Regions from separate parts of the Homo sapiens genome. Here region 2 is linked to region 1. Evidence: promoter capture Hi-C in human tissues and cell types (Jung and others, 2019). All regions are on one chromosome and are shown on one strand. The core of a region is centred on a gene start or on the middle of the fragment in contact, and the rest is flanking DNA. Distances in the headings are between cores, read along the strand shown. Region 1 holds the start of CAMKK2 (calcium/calmodulin dependent protein kinase kinase 2). Region 2 overlaps TMEM120B (transmembrane protein 120B).

Region 1 (5,419 bases), core at 375-2,874:
GAGGCTGAGGCTGGAGGATCACCTGAGCCTGGGGAGGTCGAGGGTGCAGCGAGCCGTGATCGTGCTACTGCACTCCAGCCTGGGCAACACAGAGAGACCCTGTCTCAAAACAAACAAACAAACAAACAAACAAACAAACAAAAAAAACAAAGAAAAAAAAATGGGAGTGGGCCGGGCGCGGTGACTCACACCTGTAATCCCAGCACTTTCGGAGGCCAAGGCGGGTGGATCACGAGGTCAGGAATTCAAGATTAGCCTGGACAACATGGTGAAACCCCATCTCTACGAAAAATACAAAAATTAGCCAAGTATGGTGGCCGGCGCCTGTAATCCCAGCTACTCGGGAGACTGAGGCAGAGAACTGCTTGAACCTGGGAGGCAGAGGTTGCAGTGATCCGAGATCGCGTCACTGCACTCCAGCGTGGGCGACAGAGCGAGACTCCGTTTCAGAAAAGAAAAAAAAAAAAAAAAAAAAGGGAGTCGGGGTGGAGCTCTCATTGGCTCGTTGCATGTGAGTGTCCCTACGGCCTAGAAATACAAGAGAAGCACATCGGAACGGGCTGGAAATCCACCCAGTTAACTAGAGGGCTTTGAACCTTTTATTAACTTGGAGGTTGACTCTCCTGTCAACTCGATTCCCTTTTGGCTGTTTGGCAGGGTCAGTGAGACATCCCCTGGGTCGCTCGACCCCGTAGGACGGTTCAGGGAGCCCTCCAGGTCTTCGTTTCTCCTCTTCCCCGCACAGTGCTGTTATCCAGCTGGGGGATCCAACGCACACTTAAGGCTCCAGCAAAGTAAGTGCCAAAAAGGGGAGAATGGGAAGAATATGCTGTATTTCACAAAAAGCATCTAAGTAGCCATCTGGAAAAGCCAGAATGAACTTCAATGGTGCATCCAGGTGGGCTGGGGATGGGAGAGGAACGCCTTCCCCCAGCCTTTAGGGCCGGCCCTGAGCAAGTGGTCAGTCGGCAGGCAGCTGCGGAAGGGGGCTCCCCCGAGTCGGTGGTGGCCCAAAGTCCAGGCCGCATCCACCGCCCGGCGCCTAGCGCAGGGGCAGCAGCCGGGTCGCCACAGGAGGGGCCCCGGGTGTTCTTGCCGGCTTGGGGGAACTTTCCCAGGGTCAGCCCGGAGGCGCCCTGCAGCCCCGGCATTTGGCTAAACAAAGCAAGCGCTGCCGGCGCGGCCCGCCCGAGGGCGCCGCGGGAAGAACCTGGGCAGGTGCGCGCCGCGGGCGAGCGGGTACAAAGTTGCGGCGCCACCTCCTGCGCTCCGCGCCCCTCCAGGCTCTCCTCCCAGCCGCCTCCGATCCTCCCGGCCGGGCCTCTCTTCCCCCGTTCTTCGCCTCCTCCCTTTCTGCTCCTTGCCCTTCGCCTCTTCGCTACTTTCGTCTTTGCAGGCTCCCGCCTCCCCACCCCTCCCCGGCGCAGGGCCGAGCCGGCGGGGGCGCGCAGGGGGCGGTGCGCGGCGGGCGCGGGCGGTTCCGCTTTCGGGTTTCCCGCCGCCGTGGCCAATCCCCGCGCTGCCCGGGGCGGCGACGCGCCCAAGCCGAGCCGGGCGGCTCCTCCCGCCCCCGCCCCCCGCGCGCCCGCCGCCCGGGCGGAGGAGAGGAGCGCGCGGCCGCGCAGAGCAAGCTGAGCCGAGCCGAGCCGAGCTGGGGGCGCAGAGCGCGGGAGGCGGCGGCGGCGCGGAGCCCAGGTGAGCTGGCGGTAGCCGGGCCCGGGGCAAGGGACGCAGCCGCCGCGGCCCCGGGCGCCCGCTCCGTTTCCCTCTCGAGGCGGGGGACCGCCGCCGGCATGGCACACAAAGCCCGGAGGCTGGCCTGGGGCTCCCAACACGGAGGGACCCCACGTGCGCCTCCCCACGCCCCGCCACGTGGAGGGACACGGTCCCCGACAGCCCTTCCCCCGCGTCCTCTGGGCGCCCTGGGCCTCGGGATGGCCTCCTCGGCTGGGCCGCGCCCTGTCCGGGTGGCAGGGGCGGTCCTGGAGTTTGGAACCGGGGTCACCGGGGGCCGGGTCCGTCAGGGTTCGTGGAGGCGGCCTAGGCCCAGCCCCTCGCGTTTGACAGGTGGGGAAATCTGGAGCGTTCCGGGGAAGAGAGGACCAGCGGACTTGGAGCACCCCCACCCCGCAGCCTGCCTGTCTCGGGGCAAACCCAGGCCCTGGTGGCTTGGACACCAGGTGGCAGGACCCTAGGCCAGCAGTTGTGGGGACCTAGGGGACCTTTGGCTGTCTTCGGTCTGCCCTTTGACCACCCCCACCGCACCTCTTCTCTCAGCCGGAGCCTCACAGGCTTGGTCCTTCTGACCTAAATTCACCTCGGGGTTGCAGTATGCTGTGAATGCGGAGAGGCGTCCGCCTGACTCTCAGGGACACTGGACCCAGCCCCTCTCAGCATTGGGGCTCTGTGCCTGGGGTGCCACCCGACCCAGCCTTGAGCTTTTCCTGGCTTTCCCCCAGCCCCTGCACTGCCTAGCTGGGGAAGTGGGTGCTTTCACAGCTCTGCCAGCCTGCCCTCCTGGCCACTCTCACTTAGTGCTGGACAGGATGCAGCTCAGCCCCTCCGATCTCCCCGAGAAGGCTGAGCTTTGGGGAGGGCGTCTCAGTGCTATCAGCAAGAGAGGGATACCTGGCCTCCGGATGGGACCTGCAGCGTCCATCTCCCTACAGGCTACTTTTACCTTCCCCAGCCTGGTGTTTGGAGTCTCCACGCAGGGGATAGAAACTTCAGGTGCCCTAGAGCTGTGCTGCCATTTACCACTCCCCCTCCCCTAGCTCTGCCCCCAGAGGAGAGAGAAGAGGATGGCTTTATGTCCCCATAAGCTCCTTTGTTCCTTGGAGGAGGCGGGGGCTGCAACAAGGGGAGGGCTTTGGGGGAGTTAGCCACCCTCTTCCCTAATCACCCCACAAAAACATGCAGTTTCAGAATAAATAGTGTGCATGCCATGCAAATGCAGCTTTAGGGCAAGCCCCACATACCCCTTCCAGACTGCTGCTCATACACCCTTCCTATGGAGGAAGCAGGCATTGGTGACACACACCCTTCCTATGGAGGAAGCAGGCATTGGTGATGAGGACGCAAAACATATTTTTGTAATGAAGAGTAATAGCCATCATTTGATGAGCCCCTAACTTGGATAATAATAAGAATACTTATTTATTTATTTTGAGACGGAGTCTCTGTTGCCCAGGGTGGAGTGCAGTGGCACAATCTTGGCTCACTGCAACCTCCGCCTCCCGGGTTCAAGCGATTCTCATGCCTCAGCCTCTCCAGTAGCTGGGATTACAGGCGCCCACCACCATGCCTGGCTAATTTCTGTATTTTTAGTAGAGAAGGGGTTTCACCATGTTGGTCAGGCTGGTCTTGAACTCCTTACCTCAAGTGATCCGCCTACGTCAGTCTCCCAAGTGCTAGGATTACAGGCATGAGCTGCCACCTGGCCCTGGACAATAATAATAATAACAGTATTAAAAACTAACATCTATTGAGTTCTTGCTGCCTGCCAGATTCTGTGCTATGTGTTACATGCATTATCTCATTTAATGCCTACCAAATCCTACAACGTAGGGAATTTTAACCCCATAGTAGAGATTAGGAGACTGAGGTTTACAGAAATCCTGCAGTGTTGCTAGGATTTAGCCCCATTTTATAGAAGGGCTCAGAGAAGTTAAGTAACTTGCTCAGGGTCACACAGCCAGTGCAGGCATGTCAGGCCTTAGAACCTTTGTGCACCTGTTCAAGAGCAGAGACCCTGGCAAGGCTGCCCTGAGCTTCTTGAGGAGCCCAGGAGTTTGTTTTGTTTTGTTTATTCACTACATCAGTGTTTGCCGATGCAGCTCTATGCAGGGTCTGTAGTACTGCCCATCCTTAGATATGGCTAGTGGGCTGGTAGCTAAATATAGTCACTAATAACAATGCACTAGTTCTCATCCGGGGGTGGTCCCACCCTCCTGGCAGGGATTTGGGAAAGTGTGGGGGCGACTTTTGGTTGTCAAAATGATGCTAAGCACTCCTGGCTTTTAGTGGGCGGGAGTCAGGGATGCCTACTAAAGTGTCCTGTAGGCAGGCCAGGGCCACGACATAAAGAATCACCCTCCCCTGGCTGGGCGTGGTGGCTCACGCTTGTAATCCCAGCACTTTGGGAGGCCGAGGCAGGAGGATCACCTGAGGTCAGGAGTTCGAGACCAGCCTGGCCAACATGGTGAAACCCCATCTCTACTAAAAATACAAAAATTAGCTGGGCGTGGTGGCACACACCTGTAATCCCAGCTACTTGGGAGGCTGAGGCAGGAGAATCACTTGAACCTGGAAGGCGGAGGTTGCAGTGTGCTGAGATCGTGCCATTGCACTCCAGCGTGGGGCACAAGAAGGAGACTTCCTCTCAAAAAACAAACAAAAAACAAAAAAAAATCACCCTCCCCCAAATGCCAGCAGTGCCACTGTTGAGAAACACCACAAGGAATGAGTGCTGTTGTGATCGAAGGAGCACAGGGCACTGAGGGTTCTGGAGAAATCTCCTCAGACTGGTGTGAATCTGGGAGGCTCCCTGAAGGAGGTGTCATTTGTGCAGAGCCTTGAAGGATGGGCCAGAAATGGGAGATGGGATGGGAGTAGGAGGGGAAGGGGATAGGGTGGGGTGACCTAGCAGGGAACTTTGTGCAGTAGCCGGGGGTTTCCTCTTTGAGAACCTCATCCTAGATGGAAGATGAGTGGCCAGACACCACTCTCAGGGGAGAGGACCAGGCCAAGTGGGGCAGGCCAAGCCTGTTTTCAAGGCATTTTGGCTCAAATTTTAACATGGGCCACAGAATCACCATTATTCTATCAACTCATTTTATGGAAGCCTCTTTATATGAAGGGCTCAGAGAGGCTGAGTAATTTGCTCAGGGTCACCTGTGATCTTCTTCCCGCCCCAGCATACTTTCTTCTGGTGGTTATGGGAAACATTTCATTTCCTGATCCTGGGGATTTGGGGCAAATGCTATTTCAGATTTTCCTTTAAATCAGAGGGTCTTATATTGCTTATTGCTTTGCTTTGTTTCTTTTCTTTTCTTTGAGATGGAGTTTCCCTCTTGTTGCCCGAGCCAGAGTACAGTGGTGTGATCTCGGTTCACTGCAACCTCTGCCTCCCAGGTTCAAGCGATTCTCCTGCCTCAGCCTCCCGAGTGGCTGGGATTACAGGTACACACCACCAGGCCTGGCTAATTTTTTGTATTTTTAGTAGAAACGGGGTTTCACCATGTTAGCCAGGCTGGTCTCGAACTCCTGACCTCAGATGATCCGCCTGCCTCGGCCTCCCAAAGTGCTGGGATTACAGGCGTGAGCCACGGCGCCCAGCTTTTTTTTTCTTTTTTTTTTTCTTTTGAGATGGGATCCCACTTTGTTGCTCAGGGTGGAGGGCAGTGGTGCTATCATAGCT
Region 2 (5,364 bases), core at 2,575-5,074, 420 kb before region 1:
AGGAGGACCAGGCACTCATACCTATAGTCTCAGCACTTTGGGAGGCTGAGATGGGAGGAATGCTTGAGGCCAGAAGTTCAAGACCAGCCTGGGCAACATGACAAAACCCCATCTCTACAAAAATTACAAAACTTAGCCAAGTGTGGTGGTGTGTGCCTGTAGTCCCAGATACTCAGGAGGCTGAAGAGGGAGAATCACTTGAACCCAGGAAGTTGAAGCTGCAGTGATCCATGATGGGACCACTGCATTCCAGCCTGGGCGACAAAGTGAGACCCTCTCTTACAAAACAACAACAAAAAGGAGAACTGCTCACATGAGCTCTGTGAGCTGTCATGCCCAGAGCATCTTCCCTACTTGTCTAATTACCATCCTCCGCATGTAGAAGACACAAACAAGCAAGTTTCCTTTGGAAGATTCAGGGATCTCTGCCACCTCTGCTGTCCTCTGAGACCCAAGCTCTGCCCCAGTGGGAAGATGAGGTTAATGACTCCTGTTCCCAGTACAGATGTGAAACATCTGAAGACACCTCCTTAACACATCTTGGCTGTCGGAAGATCCAGGACTGGGGAGTCAACATGTGTTGCAGGAATTGCTAGAGGAATCTCACGGCATTTACAGACATGGTTCTGGCCCAGGAGCATCAGAAGTCGCTGGGCAGTCCAGTAGACTGCAATAGGGCCATACCGCCACTTAAGTGTGGTGCCTTAGAGCTGTGCCTCTTGCTGGTGGTAAACTTTCAAGAGATTCCTTTTTTTTTTCTTTTGAGACACAGTCTTACTCTGTCGCCCAGTCTGGAGTGCAGTGACACAATCATGGCTGCTCACCACAGCCTTCACCTCCCTGGGCTCAGGCGATCCTCCTCTCTCAACCACCCGAGTAGCTGAAACTACAGGCCTGTGCCACCATGCCTGGCTAATTTTTGTATTTTTTGTAGAGACAGGGGTTTTGCCATGTTGCCTAGGCTGGTCTCAAACTCCTGAGCTCAAATGACCTGCCTATCTTGGCCTCCCAAGGTGCTGGGATTACAGGCATGAGCCACTGTGCCTGGACAAGAGATTACTTTTATATAGCTCTAAGAAATCAACTTCAAATAGACTTTCAGACGCTGACTATACTTAACCAGGACTCATCACCATAGAAACACCACCAAGGATGACTTCGCCTAACGTGTATGCGTCCTGTGCGGGACAGATTCTGAGTCATGTGTCAGAATCCATGAACGGTATGTTACGGGAGCGGTAAGTGGGGGTCTGTGCGTGGGAGGCACGCATTTGGGTGGCATGAAAACACAATGGTTAAGTGATTTGATGCTGCCATCAAGTTGCCCGAGTTCAGATCCAGAGCCTGCCACTTATTAGCTGAGTTATGTAATCCCTCTGTGCCTCGGTGTCATCAGCTGTGAAAGAGCTAGGAGATGAGGTGCATGCAGCAGGCTAGGCACTGTCACAAAGATGTGACATCATCAAGAATGTAGTGTGGGCCGGGCAAGGTGGCTCATGCCTATAATCCCAGCACTCTGGGAGGCCGAGGTGGGCAGATCACCTGAGGTCAGGAGTTCGAGACCAGCTGGCCAACATGGTGAAACCCTGTCTCTACTAAAAATACAAAAATTAGCCAGGTGTGGTGGCATGTGCCTGTAGTCCTAGCTACAGCTACTCAGGAGGCTGAGGCAGGAGAATCACTTGAACCCGAGAGGCAGAGGTTGCAGTGAGCCGAGACAGAGCCATTGTACTCCAGCCTGGACAACAAGAGCAAAACTCCGTCTCAAAAAAAAAAGAATGCAGTGTGGCCTAACATGCAACTGTGAACCACCCCCTTAAACTACCCCCGTTAGCAATTTAAGCAGTGTCCAATCGATGCCACTGTTTCCCTTGAAGAAAAAAACATTTTTTGAGACAGGGTCTCACTCTGTCACCCAGGCTGGGGTGCAGTGGCAGGATCTCAGCTTACTGCAACCTCCACTTCCTGAACTTAGGTAATCCTCCCACTTCAGCCTCCCAAGTAGGTGGGACCATGGGTGCACGCCACCATGCCTAGCTAATTTTTGTGGTTTTTTGTAGAGTCAGGGTCTTACTACATTGCCCAGGCTGGTCTCAAACTCCTGGGCTCAAGCGATCTACCTGCCTCAGCCTCCTGTTGGGATTACAGGCATAGGCCACTACACCCAGCCAACAATTTCTATTAGCCCCCCAAAAGGTGCCTGTCCAGCATCCCTCTCTCTGTTTTTTTTTTTTAAACTACCAGCTTTTTGATTTTCCTTCATGGGACCATCCCTCCCCAACTCGTTTCATGTAGTGTGGTGGCACTGATCCCACTTTTAGGCTTCAGGAGCAGATATGTGACCGTGACCTGGCCAATCAGTGCCACAGTGACTGGTTAAGTAAGGCATAGTCACATGACCCAAGCTGGGCCAATGAGAGTCAGCCCTGGGACGCTTGCTGAAACCACAGGGGGAAAGGATGCTCTGTTTCTGCCAGAGCTGCTAAGCTGACAGATGTCAGCTGAGGGCCACCTGGCCATCTTTGCCACAACATGGGAGGGACTGCCTGAGAATAATGCTGACACAGAGGAGAGAGAGAGAGACATCCACACACAGACACAGACATCACCTGAGCTCCTGGATCCAGCCTTGCCTGAAGCCATTTGCCACTAGACTTGACTCAATAAACCCTCTTTTGGCTTAAAACCAGTCAGACTGGGTTTTTTTCATTTGCAACTAAGAGTCCTGATAGTGCATTGTGTGAAAGCACTATATAAATGAAAAGGGACCCAGCAAGTTCAAAACTTTTCTTCTAGAGCTAAGAGTCTCAGGATACTTTTGGAGCCCACGGTATTAGTATCTGAGTTATACAGCAGGCATGGGTTCGAATTCTGGCTCCATGACTTTCAAGTTACTCAGCATCTCTTAGCTTCAATCTCCTCATCTAAAAAACAGGGTTGTCATTCATTCATTCACTCATTCATTTATTTTTGAGACAGGATCTCACTCTGTCACCCAGGCTGGAGTACCCTGGCACGATCTTGGCTCACTGCAACCTCCGCCTTCTGGGTTCAAGCGATTCTTCAGCCTCAGCCTCCCAAGTAGCTGGGATTACAGGAGCGAGCGACCAATGCCCAGCTAAGGTTTTTTTTTGTTTTTTGTTTGTTTGTTTGTTTTATAGTGATGGGGTTTCACCATGTTGCCCAGGCTGGTCTTGAACACCTAAGCTCAAAGTGCTCTGCCCTCCTTAGCCTCCCAAAGTGCTGGGATTACAGGCATGGGCCACTGCGCCAGGCCATGGGTTGATATTTAGATTAAATGGGATAATCTGTGTTTCACGCAGTTAGCTATTATTGTTATTGTTGTTGTTATGATTATTATTATTGTCAGCCTTTGTTTTTAGATAAAGAAACTCAACCTGAGAGAGGTGGCTCACCAAATTCAGATACTAGACAATGGCAAAGCTAGGACCTGAACTCAAGAATACTGATTCCCTGTGCAGTGTCTTTTTCTGCACAATCTGCTACTAAAGAAAGATGCCCGGCTGGGTGCGGTAGCTCACGCTTGTAATCCCAGCACTTTGGGAGGCTGAGGCAGGCGGATCACAAGGTCAGGAATTCGAGACCAGCCTGGCCAACATAGTGAAACCCTGTCTCTACTAAAAATACAAAAATTAGCCAGGAGTGGTGGCACACATCTGTAATCCCAGCTACTCGGGAGGCTGAGGCAGGAGAATCGCTTGAACCTGGAAGGCGGAGGTTGTGGTGAGCTGAGATCGAGCCACTGCACTCCAGCCTGGGCAACAGAGCGAGACTCCGTCTCAAATAAAAAAGAAAGAAAGACGCCCCACAAGCCAAGATAGAAGAGAAACAAAAGCTAACAGGAGTACTCAGGGCACAGATGAGCCTAGGGCAGTAGTTAAGAGCACAGACACTGGTGTTCAACAGCCTGGGTTCGAATCCTGGCTCCTGCACTGACAGGCCATGTGACCTTGGATAAGTGACTTAACCTCTGTAAAACAGAGATTCTAGGATCAATTTCATAGGGTTATTAATGAAATAATGCTGATCTTCTTGCTTCGAGCCTGTCTCCCTGATGTCTATTCTATACACAGCAGCCAGACGGATGTACATGTCATTAGCAGTAAAAGCCAAAATCTTTACCATGGCCTTCAAGGCCCTTGCATCACTGTGAGGTCAGACTTAGGGAAAAGCTGCTACGGGCCACCTTCTTCCTTGGCTGGGAGGAACGAGATCAGGTTTCCAGTGATGCAAGGCAGGAAATGCTCATTAAATTACTTGCCCTTGTGTCTGTAAGTGACCTTCTGCGGTCACGCCACAGGCCAGGAGACCAGGAGCACACTGGTCTCAGACTAGCACTCAACTCACCAGCATGCCTGAAACCCCAGCCACCCAAAAACTAAGTCCTCATGGAGACTCAACTGTGCCCCAGGGTTCAGGAAGGCCCTGACACATGCAAATCACAGTCCAAAGAAAACTGATCCTTTCCTCTCCTCAGTCCCAGAGATTACATTGGGTTTTCTTGGGGTGGGGAGGAGGGAAATTCCAAAGATCTTTCAAATCTTCTGGGGTCTGAGAATTAGGTTTGCTCTTTCTTTCCTTCATTCAAAAAAGGAAAGCCAGGTGCAGTGGCTCACGCCTGTAATCCCAGCACTTTGGGAGGCCAAGGCAGATGGATCACGAGGTCAGGAGTTCTAGACCAGACTGGCCAAGATGGTGAAACCCTGTCTCTGCTAAAAATATAAAAATTAGCCGGGCACGGTGGCGGGTGCCTGTAATCCCAGCTACTCAGGAGGCTGAGGCAGGAGAATAGCTTTAACCCGGGAGGCAAAGGTTGCAGTGAGCCAAGATTGTGCCACTGTACTCTAGTTTGGGCGACAGAGCAAGACTGTGTCTCAAAAAAAAAAAAAAAGAAAGAAAAAAAAAGAGAAAAAGAGGTAAGACACAGAGACATTACACATTGTTACACATCACCCCAGAATCAATGAGATACAAATATGAAACCCTCAACCCGGATTCTAAGGAAGATGTAGGAAAATTAAAATAGACCAGGATTTTCTAGTAGAAAAAAAATCCTTCCTATTGTTAAGCTTTCTAGTTCAGTGTGCCCACCTACCTACCTGCTGTTACCTGCTTGTTCCCCAACAAATCTCTTTTTTTTTTTTTTTGAGAGAGAGGGTCTAACTCTGTCACCCAGGCTAGAGTACAGTGGTGCAATCATGGCTCACTGCAGCCTTGACCTCTGGGGCTCAAACAGCCCTCCTACTCCAGCCTCCCTAGTAGCTGGGACCACAACCATGCACCACCACACCCAGCAATTTTTTTTTTTTACTGTTTGTAGAGACAGGGGTTTCCCTATGTTTC

What was found. Contacts are between HindIII fragments. The study calls those that stand out against the background at their distance.
Region 2: a fragment that was not itself captured here is called in contact with the fragment with the promoter of CAMKK2 in region 1 in 1 of the 25 tissues and cell types used here (spleen).

Annotation. Positions count from the first base shown.
Region 1 is chr12:121,292,914-121,298,332 of GRCh38, reverse strand. It overlaps CAMKK2 (calcium/calmodulin dependent protein kinase kinase 2), which reads left to right and starts at 1,624. Exons shown (of 17, transcript NM_001270485.2): 1 at 1,624-1,695. RefSeq lists a silencer at 939-2,088. The HindIII fragment of the contact is 15,221 bases long and covers 1-5,419 here.
Region 2 is chr12:121,716,114-121,721,477 of GRCh38, reverse strand. The region is part of intron 1 of TMEM120B (transmembrane protein 120B); the gene reads right to left. Among named protein-coding and RNA genes, the nearest start is that of TMEM120B, 6.0 kb to the right of the region's middle. The HindIII fragment of the contact is 4,558 bases long and covers 1,546-5,364 here.